Regions from separate parts of the Homo sapiens genome. Here region 2 is linked to region 1. The links are contacts of gene promoters, found by promoter capture Hi-C in human tissues and cell types (Jung and others, 2019). All regions are on one chromosome and are shown on one strand. Each heading gives the region's core, a stretch centred on a gene start or on the middle of the fragment in contact. The rest is flanking DNA. Distances are from core to core; before and after follow the strand shown. Region 1 overlaps CAST (calpastatin). Region 2 holds the start of GPR150 (G protein-coupled receptor 150).

Evidence for each region. Contacts are between HindIII fragments. The study calls those that stand out against the background at their distance.
Region 2: the fragment with the promoter of GPR150 here is called in contact with a fragment that was not itself captured in region 1 in 1 of the 25 tissues and cell types used here (heart right ventricle).

The regions. Positions count from the first base shown.
Region 1 is chr5:96,679,109-96,683,700 of GRCh38, forward strand. All of the region lies in intron 2 of CAST (calpastatin), which reads left to right. Among named protein-coding and RNA genes, the nearest start is that of CAST, 19 kb to the left of the region's middle. The HindIII fragment of the contact is 4,670 bases long and covers 1-4,484 here.
Region 2 is chr5:95,617,062-95,621,653 of GRCh38, forward strand. It overlaps GPR150 (G protein-coupled receptor 150), which reads left to right and starts at 3,026. Exons shown (of 1, transcript NM_199243.3): 1 at 3,026-4,592. The coding sequence starts at 3,215. The coding sequence ends at 4,519. RefSeq lists enhancers at 2,582-3,197, 4,394-4,592 and silencers at 3,367-3,766, 3,857-3,906, 3,924-4,218, 3,927-4,376. The HindIII fragment of the contact is 8,865 bases long and covers 1-4,592 here.

The DNA of each region.
Region 1 (4,592 bases), core at 900-3,399:
CCCACCTCCCAAAGTGCCAGGATTATAAGTGTGAGCCACCACGCCCAGCTACCTATAGCAATTGTAATAGAATGTTGAAGCTAATACATTTGTCATGCTGCGTTTGAAATACAAATACTTGAGGATAGGGTAAGGTAAGTGTCTGAGAGAATTTATTTATGTTTGCTTGTTTATACCAATTGTTATGAATTTTTCAATTCTTTCTCAGATGTAGAGGAATTACAGGACCAAAAGTTGCATGGACTAACAAGCCAAAGATAAAATAACTAGAGAGGAGGAAAAAGAAAAATGAAAACACTTAACATCAGCAACTTTAAATGCAGTAGAACAAATAAGTCTTTCCAAACCTGCAATCAAATCTATTTAAAGGATGAAACTGACACATCCGGCCACACTGAGAGAGTGTGAATCTTTTAGCAACATATTTCAGTAAAGTCCTGGGGAATGGAATTTAAAGTATAAAACGGGCATGATCTCAGAGAGCCAATTTTAAAAGCTTCAAATTTAACAATGGATTTATTTTTATGAGTAAAGAAAACACAAATAAAAGCGAACGGAAATTCTGCCTTAAAGGAAAAGATGTTTTTTTACATTTTCCTTACTCTAATGGCATTGGTGGCATGCTTTTCCTCAGTGTTTACCTCTCCTCCTTTTAGAATGCATGAATTCAATGTTGAATGACTCAAACATTTTTTTTTTACTTTTTTCTTTTAATAAAGTTAGACTTTTTTAATCACAAAAGTAATACATACTTGTGAAAAACAATATTACCCTGAGTCTTACCGCTTAAACTACTGCTCTAAACTTGTGTGTATATACTTAAATTAACGCGATAATGTCATGTATTTATAATTATTATATATGCCAATTTTAGTACTTTTTAATGATTGTGTAGCTAAAATATAATTATTGGAAAAAAATTAGAAAGTACCAGAGAATTTAATGAAAATAAACACCCTTGGCCAGGCGTGGTGGCTCATGCCTATAATTCCAGCACTTTGGGAGGCTGAGGTGGGCGGATCACAAGGTCAGGAGTTCAAGACCAGCCTGGCCGATATGGTGAAACCCCAACTCTACTAAAAATACAAAAATTGGCCAGGCGTGGTCGTGGGTGTGGGCGCCTATAGTCCCAGCTATTCGGGAGGCTGAGGCAGGAGAATTGCTTGAACCTGGGAGGCGGAGGTTGCAGGGAGCCAAGATCACACCACTGCACTCCAGCCTGGGCAACAGAACGAGACTCTGTCTCAAAAAAAAAAAAAAAAAAAAAAAAAGAAGAAGAAGAAAAGAAAAATGGAAAATAAACACCCTCATCTAGGATTCTAGCACCTAGAGAAATGGGCACTATGTACATCTTGGTGTATTTTCCTGCATCTTTTTTCTTTGTTTGCTTATTTTGTTTACTGAAATGCTGCATATCTTGATTTTTAAGCAGAAATAGCAAAGGAACACCATTATAGGGCCTAGTCTGAAAATGATAAATAATGTGCTTTGTGATAGATAAATCTTTTCCAATTAAAAAAAGACCCATCAGTGTGTGTGGCATTTAAGTATATAGAAAACCATTATTCAAGCACCTTGGCATTCAGTATGGCATTTAATGTTCATTATTTTGTGCTCTGTTTTTGAAGGGAGGAGAAATTTACTTCTTATTCAAGAAGTAATTTGTGACAGTGTTCCCACAAGTGATTTAGCTGTCATTAGCAAGTTCTAGAAGAGTACTGCAGCAAACATTTTAACATTCTTTTATGTCATGACAAGAGAGTTCATACTAGTTGTGGGGAGTCGATTGTGGCTGCACAAGCTCATGTCTCAGTGCCAAGAAAAGCTAAGCCGAAAAGCTGCACCGAGGCAGTCATGCCTGGCTCACCGGGATATCTAGCCCCAAGAGGCCAGCACAGGCTCGCACTGGGTGCGACTTGGGAGCTGAGTCTGACTTGGGAGGCTAAAGTGACTCTGGGAAGTTACAAGATTCTTTTCAACTGTGGTTTCCCCATTTTTTCATTTGAAATTTTCATTTATTGTTTCATTGACCAGAGTATTTTCTAAGATATTTTTTTCAGGGAGGGAGCACAATGATGATTTTCTGAGTGTGTGAATGTAAGCATGTTTTCTCGTTGGTGACTCACAAGAAAGTCCATCAATACAAAATTGTACAACATCCTTGGGTCACAGTTTTGTTCCTCAAAATTCTGTATCTATTGCTTCGTGGTTTTCTGGCTTTTTGTGCTTCAGAGATGTCTGAGGCAGCCTACTTTTGACTTACTTTTTAGGAAGCCTATTTTTCTTGCCTTGGTGCAAGATTTTTTTCTTTTGTTCTTACAATTTAAAAATACTACCAGGATGGGCCGGGCGCGGTGGCTCACGCCTGTAATCCCAGCACTTTGGGAGGCCGAGGCGGGCGGATCACGAGGTCAGGAGATCGAGACCATCCCGGCTAAAACGGTGAAACCCCGTCTCTACTAAAAATACAAAAAATTAGCCGGGCGTAGTGGCGGGCGCCTGTAGTCCCAGCTACTTGGGAGGCTGAGGCAGGAGAATGGCGTGAACCCGGGAGGCGGAGCTTGCAGTGAGCCGAGATCCCGCCACTGCACTCCAGCCTGGGCGACAGAGCGAGACTCCGTCTCAAAAAAAAAAAAAAAAAAAAATACTACCAGGATGTACTTATATATTAATATGTGTTTTTCTTTATTAATTTGTCTTGGAATGTCTGTTATTTCATTATTTCTTTAATTATTACTCTTGTTTCGGTTTCCCTTGTTTCTTCCTAAACCTACATATGCAATAGTTCCTCTTTATCAGCTGTTTCGCTTTTCATGATTTCAGTTACCCACGGTACAATACAATGAGATATTTTGAGAGAGAGAGACCCCATCCACATAACTTGTATTACAGTATATTGCTATAATTGTTATATTTTATTATTAGTTATTGTTGTTAATCTCTTACTGTGCCTATTTTAGAAATTAAACTTTATTATAGGTATGTATGTATAGGAAAAACCATAGTGAATACAGGGCTCAGTACTATTTGCAGTTTCAGGCACCCACTGGGGAATCTTAGAATATATCCACTGCAGATAAGAGAGACTACTGTAATTCTGACATTAGACATTCACTAATCATCTGCCTCACAATTTTCTTTTGCTGACATTTACCCTTGCACTCTAGGAGAGTTTCTGAAGTTTGCCCCCCACATATTTTATTTCTAAATTCTGCTCTTTGAAACTTCTAATACAGGTTTAAATTTTGGTTTTCGTTTTTGGTTTCTTTGTGTCCCCTTCTTATCCTCTCTTACCTCTTTGTCTCACTCCATTATCATTCCATCTCAATCTATAGCTCTTTACTCCATTTCATGAAGGTAATACCATCTTGTTTCCTATCAAGGATGTACACTTTTGTCTGAATTTTCTTCTTATTCTGTATCATTTTATGAGATCTGTCTTTTTCAGTCTTCGGGGTAATGATGCCCTCTGCCTTTCTCTGTGGTGGTTTTGAGAGGCAAAATTTCTTTCTGATTACTCTTTTAAGGAGAGCTTGGCCTACTCCTAGAGCTTGTCAGCTGTGATGAGCACATTGTCCTTAGCCCTGCTCTTCATCTATGTCCCTGCTAACTAAATCTCCTCAGACCTACAGCTGTTTGGCAGGTGAATATGCACAATGCTGGTAAAATCCCCACTACCTAGTGGACTTTCATTCATTACAGAACATCCACTGTATGAAATGAGATGCAGGGAATAACTCCATTTTTTAGCAAGGATTGCTAATGCGGCTTTTTTTACCTCCACCCCCAAGAAGGCCACTTTGTACTTAGGACAACTACTCCCCCAGGTGCAGCATGCTACTGCCACACCCTGCGCACAACCCATCCTCCCACACCCTGCCCACTCCACTGAACGCACCAGATTTCTGCTTAGTTGGTTTCCAGGATTTGGATTTGGAATCTTTGACTTGGGTTAGAAAGAGAGGCACTAATGGGGAATAAAGATAGGTTGCCTCATGAAGAGGACTCCTACCAAAGAGGTTTGACTGCTAGGTTTTCTAGATGGCTACATTTCTGTGTGGAGTATGAGCATTCAGGAAAGAGGGGGTCTTTCAGGGACATAAGCTTGCTCTGTTTCAGATGCATGACACAAGTGGTTCACCAATTGTGCTTTTCAATATAGTTCCATTGGCTTCGATTAGGATGGAGATTCTGCCTAGATTTTTGGCATTTGGTAGGCTTCCTTTAGTGTTTGGTTAAGTTCTGCTCTCTTCTATGAGAAAATGAAAAAATAGAAACTTCTAGAGACAATATTTTATACCAGGAATTCTTGAAATTGGCTCATAATGACAGTGTTCAGCTTCTTGAATCAAGCTCCTCTATTCTAGTTTGCTTGGAGTGAAACCTATGAAATGGCTTTCCACTTTAAACTCTGTTCTGTGTATCATTCAGCCCCTCATGAGTTTTAACAGAGGGGCAGGAGGATTACTAGCAGGACATGATTAATCATCACAGGGCATTTGCATCACCTCTTTTGTGGTATTTCTCTGTGTGGTCCCGGTACATTTGTCTTTCTCTATAAGTCTTCATAATGTTGGTCACTGCTTGTTTTC
Region 2 (4,592 bases), core at 1,776-4,275, 1.1 Mb before region 1:
GAAAAAAATCCATTAAATCAGAAAACAAGAGAACCAGCATGAGATAAGTGAAAGGAATCCCTAGGACGATGCTGACGTGAGATGCCAGGATGACCGCTGGCCCAGAGGGCAACATGTCCAGACAGAATCTGCATGACTCAAATAAGGAGTACAATGAGGTCTCTTACCACTTAGTTCTCAGGCTTTGTACAACCTTGTAAACCTTATGAAATATTAGATGATGTGTTCTACCAAAAAGGAAGAAATCAAGGAGAAAGACCAGAGATCCAAGAAACAGGAACTGCAACCCAAGAGAAAGGCAGAAAGTTTCAATGACGACAACAAATGGAGGTCCGCAGATGGTAGTTATGCAGTAGGCCTTGGGAGAAATTAGCCCAAATAAGAGAAAAATGAAAGTCTCTGGTAAAGAGGTTTCCGTGAAAAAAAATTGGAGCTGCTATATTACGTTTTGAAACTGACCTTGTGGAAATTGCTTGGGGGGACTATTTGAGGGTACAGGAAGAATTAGCTATGATAACAATGAAAAGTAAGAAAAGGCAATTATTAACTTTAAAAATAACAAAAAATAATATTCACAATATACAACTCAACTGTGAATATTTTTGTTTCATAATAATATAAACACCAAATATAAGTCTAACCCAAAATTACAGTATTGTTCTAATGGTATGGGAAATGGAAATAGTGACAGAGGTGCGAGAGATAAGTCTTTAATAAGAAGTTAACAGATAATATATCAATTTGTTAAATCAATGAATAGCATTACATATATATTATTTACTATTATGAATTAAGTCAATGCCAGAAGAAAGAGCAAATAGAGTCTAAATTGGTTCCCTCTAGAAAGAGGGGATAAAGAAGTGGAGATGTATAGGACAGGGAACTCTTTATGTTATCAGCCTTCTAGTTCCATTTGACTTTCAAAACTATGTGCATTGTATAATTTTAATAAGAATTAGTTTAGGCCAGGCCCAGTGGCTCATGCCTGTAATCCCAACACTTTGGGAGGCCAAGGTGGGCAGATTCTTGAGCCCAGGAGTTTAAAACTAGCCTGGGCAACATGGCGAAACTTAGCCTCTACAAAAAATACAAAACTTAGCTGGGTGTGGTGGTGTCTGCCTACAGTCCCAGCTAGTTGGGAGGCTGAGGTGAGAGAATCACCTGAGCCCAGGAAGTCGAGGCTGCAGTGAGCTATGATCATGCCACTTCACTCCAGCCTGGGCAACAGAGTGAGACCCTGTCTCAAAAAGGGAAAAAAAAAAAAAAAAAAGAATTTGTTGAAAATCAATGTTTTATCAGATCTTACTAAAGTTCTGTGAAATTTCACTATAGTCATTTTGAAATGCTAATATATAAGAGCATTTCAACAAATTTGAGACAAATGATAGACTATCTTGAGAAACACTGAAATGATACTGGCTAGGAAAATCACTGAATGATGAACATTGCTCAGAGAAGGCTCCCTGGAAGAAGTGCATTATAAACTGGGATGATGTGTGTGCATAGAAAAAGGCCTTGGATAAAAAGTTCTAAAGGGAGAGTATGAAAATCAAACCAGGATTTTAGATTTTCCAAGGCTATCACTCTAGCTTTCTTAAATGTCCCACCAGGAACACTTATTCCTATGTCTCCACAGAGCTTCCTTGGGCTCCTCTGGACAATACTGGCATAGTATAAAAGGAATTTTTTCTTAGGTGATGGATTTATAGTCAAGGCAGGCATTTATGCTCGAAGGTATCTGAAAAGCATCGTATATCCACTAATTCATCAACTCAACACATACCCACTGATAACTACAACCTGTCAGACCAGAGCGAGGCACCACAGAGATGATGATGAAAATAACCAAGGTTTCTGGCCAAAGGACAACAGCTTGGGAAATGGGATTCCTACAGCAGCTGGCAGGACTATCATGGAACCCACCAAATCTTCCTAGGCCATGAATCTTAAAGTTCCAAATGTTTCCTCAGATTGGGAATGTGAACCCTAGACAACACTCATACCTCCCTGGCCCCCAGGCCAGGAAGTACAGGAAATTCTACTTTCACCATGATTAACGTGGAGGGTGCATAAAAAGACAAATGGATGCTTCCAACAGGGAAACTAAAATGTGTTTGTGAGGAGACAAGGCTAAAATGAAAGCAGCAACATTTAATCTAAACCATTTCCTGTGACTTGGATTTCTTTTTTAAAAAAATTGGCCGCCTTATCACTTTCTTAGTCACCTTTTCTCTAGGCTTATTGGAGGCGTAGCCCCTCCTAGCAACTTCCCATCTGCTGGAAAACAGAATCAAGAGAATGAGGAGTGTGATGACGCATCCTTCACTGGATGAAAATATTAGGAGAAAAGCAATAAATGCACTACCATTTGCATAAAACCTATTAATGCCCTCTTCAGACTAATGAAATGAATTTTACATCACCAAGAAAGCAGCTGTGACCCACTGCTCCTAGTATTTGGAACGATCTGCAACACTGCCACTCCTAAAAGCAACATCATTGACTTTAGTACCCTCTAATTAAAATACTTTCATTCTTGGACAGAGAAGACACATCTTGATCAAAATTCAGCTAATAGGTCTCCTCTTTGCTCAAAACGCTGTTAGGTTTCTTGTGTTCCTGTTTTTCTCATGCTCGTGCAGATCCATGGCATTTCAAACCTTTAAAATAAAAACTAATGTCTTTTCTATTTTTTTCCTACTGGCAATCACATTGGGGTGGTGGGGGCGTGTGGTACAATCTCAGTCAAGAGGTCCTCTCTTGTGTGGGTGCTGGCATAACACTGGCCGTATACAATGGCCAAGCAAAGCGACATTCTGTCCTGCTGTGCTTTACACGTAAATAGAGAATGGATGAGGTTCTCAGCGCCCAGGGGTCCGCGGCTTCCGCGAGGGTAGCGTCGGGGGCCGCTGCAGAGATTGGAAGAGTACCCGCCGGGAATGGGAGGGAAGACGCGGGGAAGGTGGAGAATAGGAATCATGTGTGTTCCTCGAGTGTACAACCCACATTTGAGTGACAAATCACGAGGACAATCGACAAAAACAACTAAGCGCAAAGCCGCCCGAATCCATCTCCCTCTCTGTGCGTGTGCCTTTTCAACTAACTTTGGGAACTCGTATAGACCCAGCGTCGCTCCCCGCGCCGCCTCGCCTCCACTTTGGTTTCCCGCGTCCTGCCCGCCCTCTTCGGTGCCTCCTCTTCCTCCGGGACAAGGATGGAGGATCTCTTTAGCCCCTCAATTCTGCCGCCGGCGCCCAACATTTCCGTGCCCATCTTGCTGGGCTGGGGTCTCAACCTGACCTTGGGGCAAGGAGCCCCTGCCTCTGGGCCGCCCAGCCGCCGCGTCCGCCTGGTGTTCCTGGGGGTCATCCTGGTGGTGGCGGTGGCAGGCAACACCACAGTGCTGTGCCGCCTGTGCGGCGGCGGCGGGCCCTGGGCGGGCCCCAAGCGTCGCAAGATGGACTTCCTGCTGGTGCAGCTGGCCCTGGCGGACCTGTACGCGTGCGGGGGCACGGCGCTGTCACAGCTGGCCTGGGAACTGCTGGGCGAGCCCCGCGCGGCCACGGGGGACCTGGCGTGCCGCTTCCTGCAGCTGCTGCAGGCATCCGGGCGGGGCGCCTCGGCCCACCTCGTGGTGCTCATCGCCCTCGAGCGCCGGCGCGCGGTGCGTCTTCCGCACGGCCGGCCGCTGCCCGCGCGTGCCCTCGCCGCCCTGGGCTGGCTGCTGGCACTGCTGCTGGCGCTGCCCCCGGCCTTCGTGGTGCGCGGGGACTCCCCCTCGCCGCTGCCGCCGCCGCCGCCGCCAACGTCCCTGCAGCCAGGCGCGCCCCCGGCCGCCCGCGCCTGGCCGGGGGAGCGTCGCTGCCACGGGATCTTCGCGCCCCTGCCGCGCTGGCACCTGCAGGTCTACGCGTTCTACGAGGCCGTCGCGGGCTTCGTCGCGCCTGTTACGGTCCTGGGCGTCGCTTGCGGCCACCTACTCTCCGTCTGGTGGCGGCACCGGCCGCAGGCCCCCGCGGCTGCAGCGCCCTGGTCGGCGAGCCCAGGTCGAGCCCCTGCGCCCAGCGCGCTGCCCCGCGCCAAGGTGCAGAGCCTGAAGATGAGCCTGCTGCTGGCGCTGCTGTTCGTGGGCTGCGAGCTGCCCTACTTTGCCGCCCGGCTGGCGGCCGCGTGGTCGTCCGGGCCCGCGGGAGACTGGGAGGGAGAGGGCCTGTCGGCGGCGCTGCGCGTGGTGGCGATGGCCAACAGCGCTCTCAATCCCTTCGTCTACCTCTTCTTCCAGGCGGGCGACTGCCGGCTCCGGCGACAGCTGCGGAAGCGGCTGGGCTCTCTGTGCTGCGCGCCGCAGGGAGGCGCGGAGGACGAGGAGGGGCCCCGGGGCCACCAGGCGCTCTACCGCCAACGCTGGCCCCACCCTCATTATCACCATGCTCGGCGGGAACCGCTGGACGAGGGCGGCTTGCGCCCACCCCCTCCGCGCCCCAGACCCCTGCCTTGCTCCTGCGAAAGTGCCTTCTAGGTGCTTGGTGGTCAGAGACGGGTCATCTGTCGCTAAGGCGCAACCTCCAGGGAACTCGAGGCCTGCCAGGGTC